Regions from separate parts of the Homo sapiens genome. Here all the other regions are linked to region 2. Evidence: promoter capture Hi-C in 16 types of primary human blood cells and fetal thymus (Javierre and others, 2016). All regions are on one chromosome and are shown on one strand. The core of a region is centred on a gene start or on the middle of the fragment in contact, and the rest is flanking DNA. Distances in the headings are between cores, read along the strand shown.

Region 1 (2,700 bases), core at 20-2,519, 400 kb before region 2:
ACTGGTAAAAAACAAAACAAAACAAACAAAACACACACATAACTTTTACCCTTTTTTCAGCATGTCAGGCTTCTGGGTTCCTTTACCCCTAGCTCAACTCTAAGCCAAGCATTTTAAGGTTTGAGGAAATTAGCTCTTCCCAGGTTGGAAGAACATTATAAAAGAAGAGATAGAAGCCATTTTAAACAACGAAAGAAGGAAAATTACCACAGAAAAGTCTGGGAGTTCCAATTAGGATTGTCAAGAGGTGCTGCCTCTCTTCCTATTGGGAATGGTGTTTCCCCTATTTCTTCACATTCTCTATTTTCTCCTTTCCCTTTTGGCCTGCTGTAGGAAACATATTGCTCATCTCTGAAATGCTCTGCTGCCTGCAGAGCTGCCTGTTTTTCAGCTACGGTTAGGGTTTGGTTTAGGAGCAGCATAATATCACTTTATGAGAGGTTAAACACCTGAGTTAAATTTTGGAAAGCTTCTATATAACTATCAGAGTTGTCAGAAAATCGGCCTAAGTCTCCCTTTATTTACCTAAGGTCCTGTAATGATAAGGGAACTTTAGGGGGCCCCAAGTTAGGGGGATCCTCAGATGGTTCCCCCAGAAGTTGCTTCTCCAATTTTGGGGAATCATTCTCTATAGGCCTGTCTGATATGACTACTACAAGAGCTGGGTTGATTGTGCAATGCTTGCAAAGGTCTAGTAAGAAGGCCATGCCCTTGTGTAAAAGAAAGTGAGCCACTTTTCCTTCAAAGTCTCAGGGTTAAAGGAGTCCCTGTGCTTCAGGATGCACCCCAGAGGGGTGCAAGCTGAAGATGGTTTGTTACCCATTTAGAAAGAGAAGCAAGAAAAAGGCATCCCTTTTGTCTCCTTCCTTTTGGTGTGACCAAGTGTGGAGGAAAAGACAATGGGGGCGTCCTCTCTGCTGTTTTCCCTCCTTGGTTCCTAGGTCCTGGCACCTTGTTGAACACGCCACCCATGGTTGTAAGTGTGACCGCCCCCCAGCCATGGAACCAGAGGAACTAAGCAATTGAGATTAGTCACGCTTACCCATGTGACTCTAGTCCTCTGCCTGTGATTTCCCTTTGACTTCCTAGACTTGTGTGATCTGTGTGCCTCCCTGAAAAATGGATATTGGGAAGGACTACGTAATAGTTGCCTTTGGAGCTGGGCACAGTGGCTCATGCCTGTAATCCTAGCACTTTGGGAGGCTGAGTCATGTGGGTCACCTGAAGTCACCCAGGTTGGTTCGAGACCAACCTGGCCAACATGGCAAAACCCCATCTCTACTAAAAATACAAAAATTAGCCAGTCTTAGGCCGGTTATGGTGGCTCACGCCTGTAATCCCAGAACTCTGGGAGGCCGAGGTGGGCGGATCACGAGGTCAGGAGATCGAGACCATCCTGGCTAACACAGTGAAACTCCATCTCTACTAAAAAAAAAAAAAAAATTAGCCGGGCGTGGTGGTGGGCGCCTGTAATCCCAGCTACTTGGGAGGCTGATGCAGGAGAATGGTGTGAACCTGGGAGGTGGAGCTTGCAGTGAGCCGAGATCACACCACTCCACTCCAGCCTGGGCGACAGAGCAAGACTCCATCTCAAAAAAAAAAAAAAAAATTAACCTGTCTTGGTGGCAGGCACCTATAATTCCAGCTACTCAGGAGGTTGAGGGGGGAGAATCACTTGAACCCAGGGCGCAGAGGTTGCAGTGAGCCAAGATTGGACCACTTCACTCCATCCTGAGTGAAAGAGCAAAAACTCCATCTCAAAAAAAAAAAAAAAAAGGTCGTTGCCTTTGGAGGGTATTAGATTGAACTCCATATTTTGCTATTATGGCCCATGCTGAAGCATTTCCCCCTAGAGAATGGTTCTCATTAACTTCTGGACTTAAAATCCCCTTAATAAGTATTGCTTTAACTGGAGACATAAATAGGTGACTTAAAGGAACATAGGGACCTAATAGTGATTTTCCTGCTGATGGGACAGTATTGGAACTAAAATTTGGTTCTGGAGGACATTTTGCTCCTAATTGTTGAATGCAGAGTTTTCCCATCCACAGAAGCAGCATAAAGCTTGGTCTCTAGTAGAGAGGTGCAAAATGGGAGAAGAAGTGGGAAGGTACAGTGTTATGTCAAAGGACCGACAACGCCTCATGGAGATGATTTTTAGTTCACTAGGTGGCGATATTGACCTTAAAATGCCACGTGCTCTCCAGCTCAAGGGCAGAGAGTGACCTGGAGATGCCATGTGCTTTCCAGATCAAGGGCAGAGGGTGAAATGCTCACTGTGGGAGAAGACTTTCTGTTCCTAGGAAATCACAATGGCATTCCCCTGAGCTATATTCCAGTTACTACAGCATTTCCTGATCTTTCCTAACAGGATTACTTCCCTGAACTATAAAAATTCCTGCACATTGCATGCAGAGAAAATAGGAGACATGGTGACCATGGATAGAAGAGGAGGAAAATTTTGTAACAGGATAGCTAGAGATCCTTTTTGCCAGCACTCAGATGGGTGGCCAAAGGCTGGGTTCAACCCAGAAGCCTCTGGATAACACCAGGGTGTGCCCTGGCCAGAAATCCTTAGTTGCTCCAGGACCTCTCCCAGCCCCATGCAATGGCTGGGAGTGTGACCCCCCCAGCCATGGAACCAGAGGAACTAAGCGATTGAGTTCCATGAAAGGAAACTGGTTTGAAGCATTTTTAAAT
Region 2 (2,700 bases), core at 99-2,598:
GCTTATCCTAAAAATGTTGTGCCCAAATAGTTCTAAGCTCTCGAGATTTATTCCCACTCAGAAAGAAATGGTCTTTCAAGACCCACTAACAAAATGTTTCAAAAGGATTTAAAAAGGTAAAATTAGTTTACTTAAGTATAAAGGCAAAAAAAAAAAAAAGCTCTAGCCTGCATTCAGAGATTGATACAATTTTAGGAAAAAAAGGCATCCTAAAGCTACTCTACACGGTAGATGGTTTAAATATATTAAAACAAAGAGCTCACGCATAGAAAAAATCTGCTAACATACAACCATCACTCTCCTGTTTTGAAGACACGGGAAAAAAAAAAAAAACCTGTGTTGTTCAGACAGGATTTACTTTCCCCAAAGAAGCAAATTTGTAAGGAAGAAAACCTCTGTAATTAAAAAGGAATCCGGGAGGAACCAACCTTTTTAAGGGCCTTTTCACTGTCCAAATTCAAGTGCATTTTCTTGTACAATGTACTTCTGTGATTAACTCACCGCTACACGTTTAAGCAACCCACACCCACACTTAACACTCAGTCGCACTCTTCCGACCGGTCGGGGTGGCAGCGTGGACGAGTCACAAGATAGCGGCGGGAGTGGAAATTTCCTCTCCCCTGGAGTGGGGCAGGGTCTGGCTTCTCCGAACCGCTCAGCGGGCCGGGCGCCTCCGCCAGGGCCTCTCGGGCCGGAGCGCTCCGTACAAAGGAGGCCCGGGGGCTCGGCTCCTGCACTCTCGGGGCCCGGCTTCGGGCAGGGGTCCCCGGCTTCCGGCGCCGCGCCGGGCGGGAGGCCCGGGCAGCACGTGCGCCCCGCTCCCAGCAGGGAGGGAGGAACCAGCGCGGCCCGGCCGGGCTGCCCGCGGGCCCCGCTGCTTCGGGAGCGAGCTGCGGCCAGTCCGGCCGGCCCGGGGAGCAATGAATGGGGCCGCACTGCGCCGCCGCCGCCCGGGTTAGGGTCGGGCGGTCGGGAGCCCCGGCGCTGGGAGCCGCCTCCCGCCTTTCCGTTCCCACCAGACCGCGCCCGGCGCCCCCGGGACCGAGGCCGGCCCCGGACGCCCAGCTGCTGCCCGCTCACCCCAGCTCTTGGCGGTGCGCCCCAGGAATTCTCCGGTGGTCGGGTTGTAGATGAAGAGCTTCCACTCGGCCAGGCTCTGGTTGAGGGACTTCTTCTCGTTCTTCGTCATGGTGTGCGCGCGGACGGCGAGAGGAGCTGCGGCCGCGGGGATGGAGGCGGCGAGGGCTGCGGAGGCGCGTCCCGGCTCCGGCGGCGCAGCCCGGAGACGGCAGTGAAGGGTGGGACGGCCGAGAACACCTCCTCGTTACGGGGAGTACTCGAGCCGACTGCGCCGCGCCGCGCCGGGCGGCCGCTTGGGCCGCGGGAGCCTGACGTCTCCGCCCGCCGCAGCCAATCCCCGCGCCGCTCGGCCCGCGCCGCTGCCGCCTCCCGCCAGCGGCCGGGGCGCTGCCTGAGGCGGCGAGGGCGCCCCACCCCGCCCCGGCCCCGCCCCGCAGTAGCCTCGGGGGCTCCCTCAGCCTGGGTCAGAGGAAGCGAGAAGAAAGTCTAAAAATCCGAAGGTTTAGTCGCACGCACGTTTATAATAATAGCAAAAGGCGGGCGTCCCCGCGCCGCAGGTTGCTTAGGAGGAGGACTGGGTTTCCTGGGCGTTCCTGGGCGCCGGGGCGCTGAGAAGATGCTACCCGCGGCGGGCGGGTGCGGAGAGCACGAAAACGACTCCAGTCGGCCCGCGGCTTCCTCTCTGAGGGAACTTAATCGTCCCCTCCCCGAACTGCCTCCCCGACCGTCCCCAGGCGTTCTCTGGGCTCTGTGACGTTCCTACAGGACGCTCTCTGGGCTCTGTGACGTTCCTACAGGACGCTCTCTGGGCTCTGTGACGTTCCTACAGGACGCTCTCTGGGCTCTGTGACGTTCCTACAGGACGCTCTGCGGGGGATCGCGCGGGGCTCCCACAATGTACACGGTGCACTGCTGTTCTGAGAACGTCCTCGCTTGGCTCCCTTGAAGGGTTCAACCGGGAGCCTCGGGTCAATGGGAATTCCGTTCTAAATATGCCAGTGAATGGAGTATAATTTTTCTCGGGATTCAGTTGAATTTATCAATGAAATCTAAATACGTGCTTTCCCAAGGGTCCTGGCAACTGAAAGCTCCCAGCTTTTGCCCAGACGCTCCTACTCTTAACCCACAGGAAAGGAACACTCGTTGGAGGGTCCACGCCTGTGTAGTGTCGCCGGCTTTTCATCTCCCCTGTAGAGATCGCGGCCCTTGGGCGGAGCTGAGGGTGCCGGTAGCGTTTTCCTCCGCGAGATGGAGCTGACGAGTACGGGAGGGGGGGTGCCCTCAGACTCAGCGACAGGATAAAAGACTTTATAGGAATTTGCACAGAAGGTGCGGGGTGGGGGAGGTTGTTGTTGTTGTTGTTTATTTATTTATTTTTAGAAAAAAGCTCTGCCTCCGTTTTATTAGCAAATAAAAATTATGGAGAAATGTAATAGCCATCTTATTGTTTGGAGTGATGAATTATAATCTGTCTGGAAGTTTAAACAGCCTGCAAATGGATGAATTTTCCTTTTTCCTCACTTTTCTTACCAAAGCAAGAAATAATGAATTATACCTCCCACAAATGGAAAAGTGGTAAAATATATTCCTATAAAGTGCTTTTTTCACGCTTAAAAAAGC
Region 3 (2,700 bases), core at 172-2,671, 290 kb after region 2:
GTTTTTTCTACCATTACCAGGACTCTTCTTTTTTTTTTTCAAGTTCAGTTTTATACTGACTCCATCATTTTCTGTTCCCCTTCTTTACTTCTTTTTTTTCCTCAAAAAGAGTTCTTTATCTATTTTTAAAAAGGCAACTTCATGCCCAAATCCTTGGAATTATCCTTAACTTGCCTTTTTCTCTCACTCCCAGTATCTAACTCCTCTGGGTACTATTTTTCAAATAGATTCAGAATGTGATCCATTTTTATCATTTCTACTGCTACCAACAGATCCAAGCCATTCTCTTTTCTCCTCTAGAATATTTTAGTAGTCTCTTAACTGCTCTCCTTGTGCCCTTCATTCATTCTCCATGTAACACTCCACAGACATAAGTTACCCTATTAAGACATAAGTTAAACAATGTTATTCTTCTGCTTAAACCTCTCCAATGTCTTTCCATTTTACTCAAAGTAAAAGCCCACAAGGTCCTATAAAATCTAGCACTTCTATGATCTTTTTGATCTTAGTTCCTATGACTTACCCTCTTCTTCAATTTTCCAGCCACAAGAGCTTTCTCTTATCTCTTTAACACTCCAGGCATGCTTCTATTTCAAGGCATTTGTTCTGGGTGCTGTTAGCTATTTCTGTGACACTTTTATCCCAAATATCCACATGGTTCACTCCCCGACCATCTTTAGATTTAGGTCTTTGCTCAAATGTCACTTTCTCAGTGAAGCCTTCCCTGGTTAGACCTTTTAATATTTTAACTCACCTCACTGAACCCATCATTTTCTGTACCTTGTCCCTGCTTCTTTTTTGTTCATCTGATTTATTATAATCCAACATAAATATAATTTTCTTTTTTTTACTGTTTATTGTCTTAGTAAAGATCTATAAGGACAGGGATTTGGTATGTTTTGTTTACTATTTTTCTCTCCAGAGCCTAGAACAGTGTCTGGTACATAGTAGGCACTCAATAAAATACCTGTTGAATAAATGCATGATTGAATCAATGATGTATTTTGTTCTTTAGCTATCAGAAAAAAAAAAAGCTGCAGAGCCCTGTATGTGAAAATACAGGTAGGTGAAAACCGTGTCAACTTCAGTGTATTGAACATTTATGTTTAAAATATCATGGACATTTCTTTTACAATGTCCACTGGCTATATGAGCTAGGGTAGGGCTGGCTATATAAGCTAGGGCATTTAATGTCACATGAAAGTTGTGTGTATGTATATGTGTATAACAGGTCTCCCCAAAGTAGACAATATCTAATTAAATTCTACAGAACAGAATTTCAAAGATGAATTAGTATGCCTGGCAGAAATTTTAGAAAGACAAGTAGTTCGTAACGTAATTCAGATGACAGCATATATGGAAGACATGGTGTTCTTTGAAGAATACTTACTATATGCCTTTATGCCACTAGTAATAATATGGTCCTTACCACTGAGGATCTTAAAGACTAGGGGAAGAGATGGACAAAAGTAATGACCACACAGTAATGCCACGTAGCTGAAGATACACAGTAAGGGAATGGCTACACTGAGGTAGCCATATGAGGCTTACAATGGCTTCCATAAAGAGCTGACACTTGATCTAAGACTTAAAGGACAACAGATTACACAGGTAAAGGAGAAAATAAAGGAATTTTTAGGTAGATATTTTTATGTACATATGCAAAAGCATGAATGTAAAAGCATGCAAAAGATGTAAAGAAGGCACTGCAAAAAGTAGTCTGGTGAAACTACATATGGATACTGCAAAAGATGAGGCTGAATGAGACATAAAGAGGCTAGAACATCAATAACTAGTTTGATCTCCGCATATAACTAAGAGAACTTTTACTTGTAGAAGATGACTAAATTATAGTATAGCAATATAAAATCATAATTGTAAGTACACAGGGCCATAAAAATCTCTCAAGGTAATCATGACTGATGGCTGAGTGTCTGATAATATTCATTTGCTACATGTTAATTTAACTCTACTGATTAGTTGCTTACTATTGCCTGTTAGCACTTGCCTAAAGGGGCCTCAAAAATTTAAAAACTTATTGAAGAAAAATCCTTAATACAGAGAAAATTCTACTAATTCATTTTCCAGTAAATTGGGAAAAGACTATGCATATTATTTGACACTAAGTGACAGAAATACTTGATTCACAATACTACTGTATATTAGGAAGAGAGAGTGAAAGACTCAATGATTTAGGTCTATGTTACAGGAAATTTGGGAGGTATTCTTTCAGACACCAAAGTCACATAGTAAGTGTAGCAAAAGACTAATTAACTAGCAAGTCTTGGCTACCTAGAAAACAGCAGGGAAATTGGAAGTAAGCAAAACATTTGCTCAACAACCAAACAGAGAATGCAAAGCCCAGGTATTTTATTTACAGGAGAAAGTCCTGACGTTTTCATTCAAAGCCTTTTAATCTTAGGCATAATTTAAACAAACATAGCACTTGCATCCTCACTTATAGGACACTACTGTAAAAAATAGAGGTGGGTGATGGGATGGGAATAAGGTGTTATATTATGGTTCACAGACATCACAAGAAATTTAAGGCCACAGCCTTACCACAAAGGATACAGAAAAACTGTATAAAGCGAACATAGGAACACAAAAAGCACAGCAGTCCAAGGCATTTAGCTGCGGAGTAAATGCATTTAGCTGGAGTAAACAGTTGCACACACCTTTAAGCAGCCCTGAAAATAT
Region 4 (2,700 bases), core at 142-2,641, 270 kb before region 2:
GGACTAGTTACATGCAATTATGCATACAATTGTCTCTCCACCCTGCCCCAGAGAAAGATCTGAAAGTGCTCTCTTACCTATCTCATCTCCTTTAGGCATTTGCTTAAATACCACCTTCTCCGTGCTACCTTCCCAGATCACTCTATTTAGGACTGAAGCCATTCCTCCAACACCTCTGCTTATATTTTTTTCCCATAGCACACATACCAGCATGTAATATAGTTTTTGTTTTACGTATTCTTTTGCATATTATCTTTCCCATCCTGCTAGAATGTAAGCTCCATGAAGGCAGGAGTTTTTGTCTCTATTTTGTCCACTGATGTCTCCCCATATCAAGAATAGTGTTTGGGGCCGGGCGTGGTGGCTCACGCCTGTAATCCCACCACTTTGGGAGGCCCAGGCGGGAGGATCTCTTGAGTCCAGGAGTTCCAAACCAGCCTGGGAAACATGGCGAAACAGCCGGGTGTGGTGGCGCGGGCCTGTAGTCCCAGCTACTCGGGAGGCTGTGGTGGTAGGATCACCTGAGACTGGGAAGTCAGGGCTCCAATGAGCCGTGATCCTGCCACCGCACTCCAGCCTCGGTGAGAGCAAGACCCCGTCTCAAAAACAAACAAAGTGGCATATAGAAGATCTATAAGATTTGACTGGAGTAAAATGAGAAAGATCTAATCGTTTTAATGCGCTGTTCACACGGGGTTTTTAACTTCGGCACGAACGAATGAACAAAATCTTTTCATATGGAACCAAGTGTACGGGTATTTGGGGTGTGTGCAGTTTCCGCGGGACAGAATGACCTGTCCTGGTTTGGGTATTAACTTGCCTTGATATTGAAGAACCTCCACATTCCCAGTGGTCTCTAACTCATTGTCTGAATAATTTCAAGGTGTCCCACAGTTGGCCCCACGCATAGCCTCAATCACGATCACTCGCCCCCCTGTCCCTTATTGATGCTCCCCCAGGGCGACCCCGCAAAGGCCTGGGGACCGAATGGAACTGCCCCAGTCCCCCTCCTTCCAAGAGAGCTGGGGTTTTCTGGCTTCGGGGTCAGTTGGAAAAGAGATTCCCACCCAAGTCGCAGGGTGGGAGTAGGGGGGATGAGATAGGAGTGATGAAGGAAGTGTGTCTAAAATTCTAGGCCTCAGGCCCGCAGCTGTCCCTGGAGGCGGCGGGGAAGCGGGGTGGTCGGGTCCTGCGGAGGGCTCCCAGGGAGGCCACAGGGGGAACCAAGGGGCGGTGGCTGAGTGCACGAGTCCCGCCCCTCCATCTGTTGGCCCCCTACTCTCAAAGGGAAGCCTGGGGGCGGGGTTTGTTTACTCCGTGCACGCACTGCCGGCCCGGCCAATCCGTGGGGAGCGGCGCCAGGCGTCGCACATTCTGAGGGCCAATCGGCGCGCACTGTGCTGCTCCGCCGCCAAAGCTCGCGCGGGGGAAGCGGGGCTGTAGCTGGGCAGGGAGAGGGCGGACGAAATCGGTAGCGATCTCGGCTGCGGCGCTGCCGCAGCTGCCCGGCCCGCGGGGCGCGCCCTGACCCTTCATCTTTGGGCAGGCTCGAGGGCGCGCGCACGGTTGGCGTTCTGGGGCCTCAAACTCCTGGGCCTTGACCGGGCAGGCCGCGTCTCCCCGGGTGTGAGTCCACCGGGACCCGGCCGCCGCCTAAGCGCGGGCGCCACAGAAGCGGCGGCGCCCGAAGACGCGCTCCTGGCTCGGCCCGACAGCCTCGCTTGGCCGCCAGTTCTTCTGCAGCCGAAGGCGGTAAGGTCTGGGGCGAGGGCGCGGGCCCGCGCGCGGAGGGCCTTTGGACCCGGCCGGGCGCGTTCCTGGGTAGGTTTCCCTCCCTGCGCACAGGGGCCCCCTTGTTCCCCCACGAGTCCCATCTGTTTAGACCTGGGTTCTCCAGGCCTGGCCGGGTAACCCGTGAGTGTCTGGGCCAGAGTCGAAAGCAGAGGAGGGTCACCCTCTTAGTGCATAGAGCAAATCGGGGGAGGTAACGTCCCTGAGTCACGCCTCGTGGAAGAGGGGAAGGGCTGCTTTCTACTTTCTCGTTCTCTTCAAAGAAGGATGGCTTCTAAATCTGGTTTTCCGATTTTTCCCTTCTCCTTTCATGACTCACAGGCCTCTGTGTCCACCAGGTGTTTTGTTTGTTTTTAAAGAGTTTCTAAGCTTTGTGTGCTTGGAAGAACCTCATATGCCCCATAAAGGAACTTTTCTCTGAAGTAGAGGATCGCTTTTTGGGCCCAGACTCCTTTGAGAAAATCTGGAAAGCCAAGGTCTGTCTTCACAAAGAAGTGTAAGGGTTTTCCTAGGATCTCGCTGAGAGACAGTACAACGAAGTGGATGAGCGCCCCAGTCTCTCTTACCAGCCTGTGCTATCTCCCATTGTGTGATCTCGGTTTCTTCATCTGTAAATTAGATGCATCCACCTATTCGGTGTGTTTCGGGGAGTGAATGGACTAATGTATGGAATGCAATCGTAAGAAAATCCTCCACGTATTAAATGCCTTGCATTAGTTAGGCACTTTTATTATTGACTGCCATGGATGCTGGTTTAGAAAAAGACCCTATATTATTTCCCTTTTAGTGTTGAGACAGTGAACGGGCTCATTCCTTTTCCATATTCACTGCTGAAGCTGCCTTTGAGCCCATGAATACTTTTATCTTTTCCTCATTCCATCTCAGAGGGCACAGACTCCCTCTCACTTA
Region 5 (2,700 bases), core at 97-2,596, 350 kb before region 2:
AGCCGTTTTCTCTGTTGTGAATGGGGAACTGATATGGTTACTATTATGTGTGAACTTGGCTAGGCTAGTTAGACACACTGTATGCCCAGCTGTTCGGTCAAACACCAGTCTAGGTGTTGTTGTGAAGGTATTTCTTAGAAATAATTAACATTTAAATTAGTAGACTTTGAGTAAAGCAGATCACCCTTCATAACCTGGGTGAGTCTCATACAATTGGTTTTAAGCTTTAAGAACAAAGACAGGTTTCCCAAAGAAGGAAGTCTCCTCAAAACTGCAACATGGAAACTCTTCTTGAGTTTCCAGCCTGCTAGCCTGCCCCACAAATATCCAGGACTTGCCAGCCCTCACAATCACATGAAGCAATTCCTGAAAATAATAAACCTCTCTTTCTCTTTCTCTCTATCCTATTGTTTCTATTTCTCTGTAGAACCCTGACAAGTACTGGACCCATTAGTCATTTATTTCGAATTACAATAATTCACACACACACACGACCAAAATGGCCAGCACTGGTGAAGGCAGTCAGTCCTTGAGGCCACTTGGAACAAATCAGTACTGTTGAACAGGGTACAAAGAAAAAAAACATACTCTTCCAGGTGTATGTTCCAAGCTTCACGTTGTATGGCCAAAGAGCCAATTTTGTCAAATTGTCTGAAAGCAAGTTGATTAACACGACAATTTGGTCAAAAGAATGACTTGGCCCTGTGCAGTGGCTCACGCTTGTAATCCCAGCACTTTGGGAGGCCGTGGCGGGCGGATCACGAGGTCAGGAGATCCAGACCATCCTGGCTAACATGGTGAAACCCCGTCTCTACTAAAAATACAAAAATTAGCTGGGCATGGTGGAGAGGGCCTGTAGTCCCAGCAACTTGGGAGACTGAGGCAGGAGAATCGCTTGAATCCGGGAGGCGGAGGTTGCAGTGAGCCGAGATCGCAGCACTGCACTCCAGCCTGGGCAAACAAGGGCAAAACTCCGTCTCAAAAAAGAAAAAAAAAAAAAAAGAATGATTTGGCTGGGCACAATGGCTCACACCCATAATCCCAGCACTTTGGGAGACAAAGGTGGGAGGATCACTTGAGGCCAGGAGCTCAAGACCAGCCTGGCCAATATGGCGAAACAGAGTCTCTACAAAAAAATGCAAAAATTAGGCGGGCGTGGTGGTTGTAGTCCCAGCTACATGGGAGGCTAAGGCAGTTGGATCGCCTGAGCCCGGGAGGTCGAGGCTGCAGTGAGCTGAGATGGCACCACAGCACTCCAGCCTGGGCGACAGAGCAAGACCCTGTCTAAAAAAAGTTTTGATTCAAAATGAGTATGTATGTATGTATGTATGTAAGTATGTATGTATGTATGTATGTATGTATGTATGTATGTATGTATGTATTTTGAGGCAGAGTCTTGCTCTGTCGCCCAGGCTGGAGTGCAGTGGCATGATCTCGGCTCACTGCAACCTCCGCCTCCCGGCTTCAAGTAATTCTCCTGCCTCAGCCTCCCCCGTAGCTGGGATTGCAGGAGCCCGCTACCACGCCCGGCTAAGTTTTGTATTTTTGTAGAGACGGGGTTTCACCATGTTGCCCAGGCTGCTCTCAAACTCCTGACCTCAAGTGATCCGCCCGCCTCGGCCTCCGAAAGTGCTGGGATTACAGTCGTGAGCCCCCGCGCCCAGCCAAAATGATTATCTTTTACCTTTTAATTGACATACCAGTTGGCACTGTTAAACGTTTTCACACAAAACATATATTCATATGTTTGCTAATTTTACAAAAAGAAGATAAGGAATATTTTCAGGCCCCGGCTTCACAGATTGCTGGTGGCAGTGGAGAGGTGGGTGGCGCAGGTGGAACCACCTCCCCACTACTTGCAGATCAGGACCCTCCCCGGGAAAGCTCCAGGCCCAGGAACCTAAGCCGCAAGAATCTCGAAATTTCCACAGGACACCTTGTTCCTTTTGGCCAAGTGTCTGGATGAGCCCATCCCCTTGGGCAGCAACAAAAGGTAAAGGGTCTCTGTGAGGCTTTCAGATTCCAAAAAAAAGCAACCGCTGGAGTGGAGTGTGATGGTCAAAGCAGCCACCTTAAGCTTTCTCCTTTCTTTCCCACTAGAGGGCTGAGAAAAGTCTTCTTCCTTGCGTTGTATTTCATTTGGCAAATATTTACCGCTTTGTATTGTGTGCAAACTTTACCAGGTTTTCTGGGAAGAGAAGTCGTGGGGAGCTCTCAGTTTGTTAATAAATATTAATACTTTTGGCCAAATTTTGAATTTTTTATGTCACTTGTTTTATTTCATTTTTGAAAAACAGCACTTTATTTCATTTAACTCTAGCATATTCAATGGCTGTGCATTTAATAATACTGAAATAAAGTCGCACCCAAAATGTTAGCAAAAAAATGGAAACTATATATGGTAGTGACCTCTACAAATGTTTTAAGCTTGAAAAATTCTGCACGAACGCAGACACAGGTTAGTCTGCCAAAGTTACTCAGATAAAAATTTCTCCAACCCTCAAGTCATAATCATAGTTGAGAAATGAATAAATGTGCCTTATGGCACCTCCAAACTTTTTGAGATTTTTATATAAACTAGCCTATACTTCTCTCCTTACGATTAGCATATGGGGTAGCTATTTTTCTTTAACAGAGATTCTTCAAATGTAGCTAGGGTTAAGAGAAACGCTGGCGCTGCCTCTCAGGAAGCTGGAGAAG
Region 6 (2,700 bases), core at 19-2,518, 460 kb after region 2:
TATTCAAAACAATAGGGTCAACACCATGAAGCATCTCCACCAAGATCACAAGTACCCACAAGGAATCCTCAGAACTGCTCAATGAAAATGGTGGCTAAACCCAGGAAGCAGATTTCAGCTTTAGAGACATCAGGGGGATGTGCAGCTGATTCCTCAGTCTGGGGAGCATTCTGACCGTCTGGGGTGTGAGGACCTCCTGCAGGAAGGTGGCTGAGGCTCTCGGCCGGCTGGGTCTTCCCCACCTCCTCCCCACTGTCAACAGACACCTGGCTCCAGGCGCAAAATACCAGCGTACAGAGATCATCTGTATGGGCCTGGGCCCTCAGATATTTATTTAAGTCCACGTACACACTTTCCCTGCACAAACATTTTCTTCTTCCCCATTTCCCACAATTCCTCCTCCCATGTTTCCAGTTTGAAGCCACTGCTGGCAACACTACGACCTCTGGAGGGAGGCCAGGCCTGGCAGCACAGAGCTCGAAGGCAGCACAGGATTGTGAAAGTCGCCTCTTCATAGGCTCAGGAGACGCAGGCGCTTGGCAGAGCTGTCCGGCAAGCCCACCAGTAGGTCTGAGGTACAAAGAGAGGCACAAAGGCTTTCCTACTATGGAAAAGCGACAAAAACTCTGGCCAGTGTTTCAAATGGATGAACAATGGTTCAGATAAAAAAAAAAAACCGAGTGGAAAAAATTGTGGGAGGGAGAAAGAATATTAAGGGAGCTAAGTTCCAGTGAGCTGTTGCCAATTTCACCCCAAAAGAAAGGTAATAGAAACAGAAGGAAAGTTTCTGGCAGTAGTCAGGTGCCTACATAGTTCCCCTATTCACCTGGTTTAGGGTAGAATTATCTGAGCAGAAGGAGCAATGATGTTGGTAAATAAGTTGTCTACATTAAAAAATAATTAAAACTCCCCAAACAAACTCCAAACCACTGCAGGTAAACACTCGCAATATGTTGTTTAGAAAAATTATGCTTTAAATATACTGATCTAAAAAAAAAAAAATCAAAAGAACAGACTGTTCTGTAGAATAGCTTGAGTTTCTGCCTGTGCTTTCATTTTAGAAAACAAATGCTCGTAGACCTCACAGTGGGAGGAGTTTCACACAGGGATTCAGCTCGCAGAAAATGGCCACCGGCTTTGAGAGACCTTAACACAACAAACAGGGCACCCAAGAGACCTTTTGGGAATACGAGGCACTTGCCTTTCACAAGGGTAATCGTCTAGAGATACACAAAACCATTTTTTTTTCTTCCCGACCAGTAACATAAATCATAGCTTCCAAAGTATTTGTTTACAGAATACCACAGTGACTAATTACCAGAACTTTTCTTATTCTCTCTGAGCAAAGGAACCTCATGGGAGAAAAAAAATATAGGTCATTTTTAATGTAAGGGAGTTGCTAGGATTGGAGGTTAAGACAACTATTTAAACTTCATAAAAGGAAAAACAAAAGACCTCAAAAAGTATTTTCTAAAATAGAGAAAGGTGCAAATCTTCTTATCAGAAACGCATTATAAATAGAAAAGAAACTCTTAAAAGAGATTCTTCAAATGTGACAAAAAGCTCTTGGTTTCCTGAAAATGTCAAAAACAAAAACAAATATTGACAATACTAAATATCCAACAGACAGGGTAAGAACTTCACTTAGAAGCAAATTTCCATTTAGGTAATTTATGGTGCTTCTGTGCAAAAAGTTGCTTTACACTGTGTAGTCGCTGAAGACACTCCAGAATTGCTAGACCTTCACAGGAAAAATTTTAAAGGTCAGGGTTTTTTTTCTTTCCCTAGTTAGCACAGCACTCAGGGGCAGCCAGTTCTCTAACGTCTGAGTAAAACCCTACACAGGGCTTCATTTCAGTGCCACGTCATGGCTTTTGCAGACTATCTTCTTGCCTCCGCTTCCTCAAAGTGGTCCTTCTGTCCCCTCCCATTAAAGCAAAGGTGGAACTTGCATTAATTCAAGGGAAGGGCTGAACACACTACAGAAGGCATGGTTCAGCCACAGGCACCGGTTATGGCTGTAACCACTGTAAATCTCTTCCACGAAAGAGCATCAAAGACCTGCACAGAGACCTTGAGAAACCTTGCTCTTTGGGCTCAAGTCAGGGACTATAAGACCAGACTAAATAGGTTTAAGCAGGGACAGATCAGAATGCTGAGTAGGTTTTTCAAAAAGGAAATCCTCATTTAGGTGTCTAGGAGCCAATCACTGTGCTATTAAAACTAATCGGAAATCTCCATGCTTACATGAAAACGCACAAAAGTATGGGGAGACTGATCTGAATATGTGGGTCTCCCTTGCCTGGCAAGATAATGAATTCATCTTTGTTTGGACTGAATTGGTGGTCTTATTATCTAATTGTCATCAACTCTACAAACAGTCAGTTGTTCTAACACATGAACAGGAAAAATAACATAAATAAAACAGGGCCTAGAAACAATATCCAACTCACAAAGCAGGAAGTGACAGCTCATATCTGTCTCACCTTGCACAAAGCCTGCCTTCACGGGTTGCTGAAATAATCCCAAGATACCCTTCCAGGACTTAAACAGCCACTGGATTTTTCATGAAAATGCATCCTGGTATGAACACTCACAGTAGTGGCCAGAAAAATAGGGGTGCGCAAGCTGGGTCTTCCTCTCTCCCTGCGTAAATGTTTTAATTTCTTTCAATATTAAGTTATAATACAGCTTAGGAAT

Evidence for each region. The method cuts DNA at HindIII sites, captures the fragments that hold promoters and counts their contacts. A CHiCAGO score of 5 or more calls a contact.
Region 1: a fragment that was not itself captured here is called in contact with the fragment with the promoter of ATP1B3 in region 2 in 1 of 17 cell types (fetal thymus); the score reaches 5.0 in fetal thymus.
Region 3: a fragment that was not itself captured here is called in contact with the fragment with the promoter of ATP1B3 in region 2 in 15 of 17 cell types (M0 macrophages, endothelial precursors, M2 macrophages and 12 more); the score reaches 12.1 in M0 macrophages.
Region 4: the fragment with the promoter of TFDP2 here is called in contact with the fragment with the promoter of ATP1B3 in region 2 in 1 of 17 cell types (fetal thymus); the score reaches 5.4 in fetal thymus.
Region 5: a fragment that was not itself captured here is called in contact with the fragment with the promoter of ATP1B3 in region 2 in 1 of 17 cell types (fetal thymus); the score reaches 5.8 in fetal thymus.
Region 6: a fragment that was not itself captured here is called in contact with the fragment with the promoter of ATP1B3 in region 2 in 1 of 17 cell types (naive CD4 T cells); the score reaches 5.5 in naive CD4 T cells.

The regions. Positions count from the first base shown.
Region 1 is chr3:142,279,657-142,282,356 of GRCh38, reverse strand. No RefSeq gene overlaps it. Among named protein-coding and RNA genes, the nearest start is that of GK5, 55 kb to the right of the region's middle. The HindIII fragment of the contact is 1,595 bases long and covers 472-2,066 here.
Region 2 is chr3:141,875,291-141,877,990 of GRCh38, reverse strand. It overlaps ATP1B3 (ATPase Na+/K+ transporting subunit beta 3), which reads right to left and starts at 1,348. Exons shown (of 7, transcript NM_001679.4): 1 at 1,081-1,348. The coding sequence starts at 1,189. RefSeq lists silencers at 554-1,123, 1,394-1,523, 2,394-2,453. The HindIII fragment of the contact is 6,749 bases long and covers 1-2,700 here.
Region 3 is chr3:141,590,216-141,592,915 of GRCh38, reverse strand. All of the region lies in intron 19 of RASA2 (RAS p21 protein activator 2), which reads right to left. Among named protein-coding and RNA genes, the nearest start is that of RASA2-IT1, 66 kb to the right of the region's middle. The HindIII fragment of the contact is 2,889 bases long and covers 1-2,700 here.
Region 4 is chr3:142,148,235-142,150,934 of GRCh38, reverse strand. TFDP2 (transcription factor Dp-2) reads left to right here and starts at 1,391. Exons shown (of 13, transcript NM_001178139.2): 1 at 1,391-1,752. RefSeq lists silencers at 1,116-1,165, 1,276-1,485, 1,546-1,615, 1,846-1,895 and an enhancer at 1,246-1,746. The HindIII fragment of the contact is 3,426 bases long and covers 1-2,162 here.
Region 5 is chr3:142,226,080-142,228,779 of GRCh38, reverse strand. No RefSeq gene overlaps it. Among named protein-coding and RNA genes, the nearest start is that of GK5, 1.8 kb to the right of the region's middle. The HindIII fragment of the contact is 1,467 bases long and covers 613-2,079 here.
Region 6 is chr3:141,410,781-141,413,480 of GRCh38, reverse strand. All of the region lies in intron 5 of ZBTB38 (zinc finger and BTB domain containing 38), which reads right to left. Among named protein-coding and RNA genes, the nearest start is that of ZBTB38, 44 kb to the right of the region's middle. The HindIII fragment of the contact is 3,130 bases long and covers 1-2,700 here.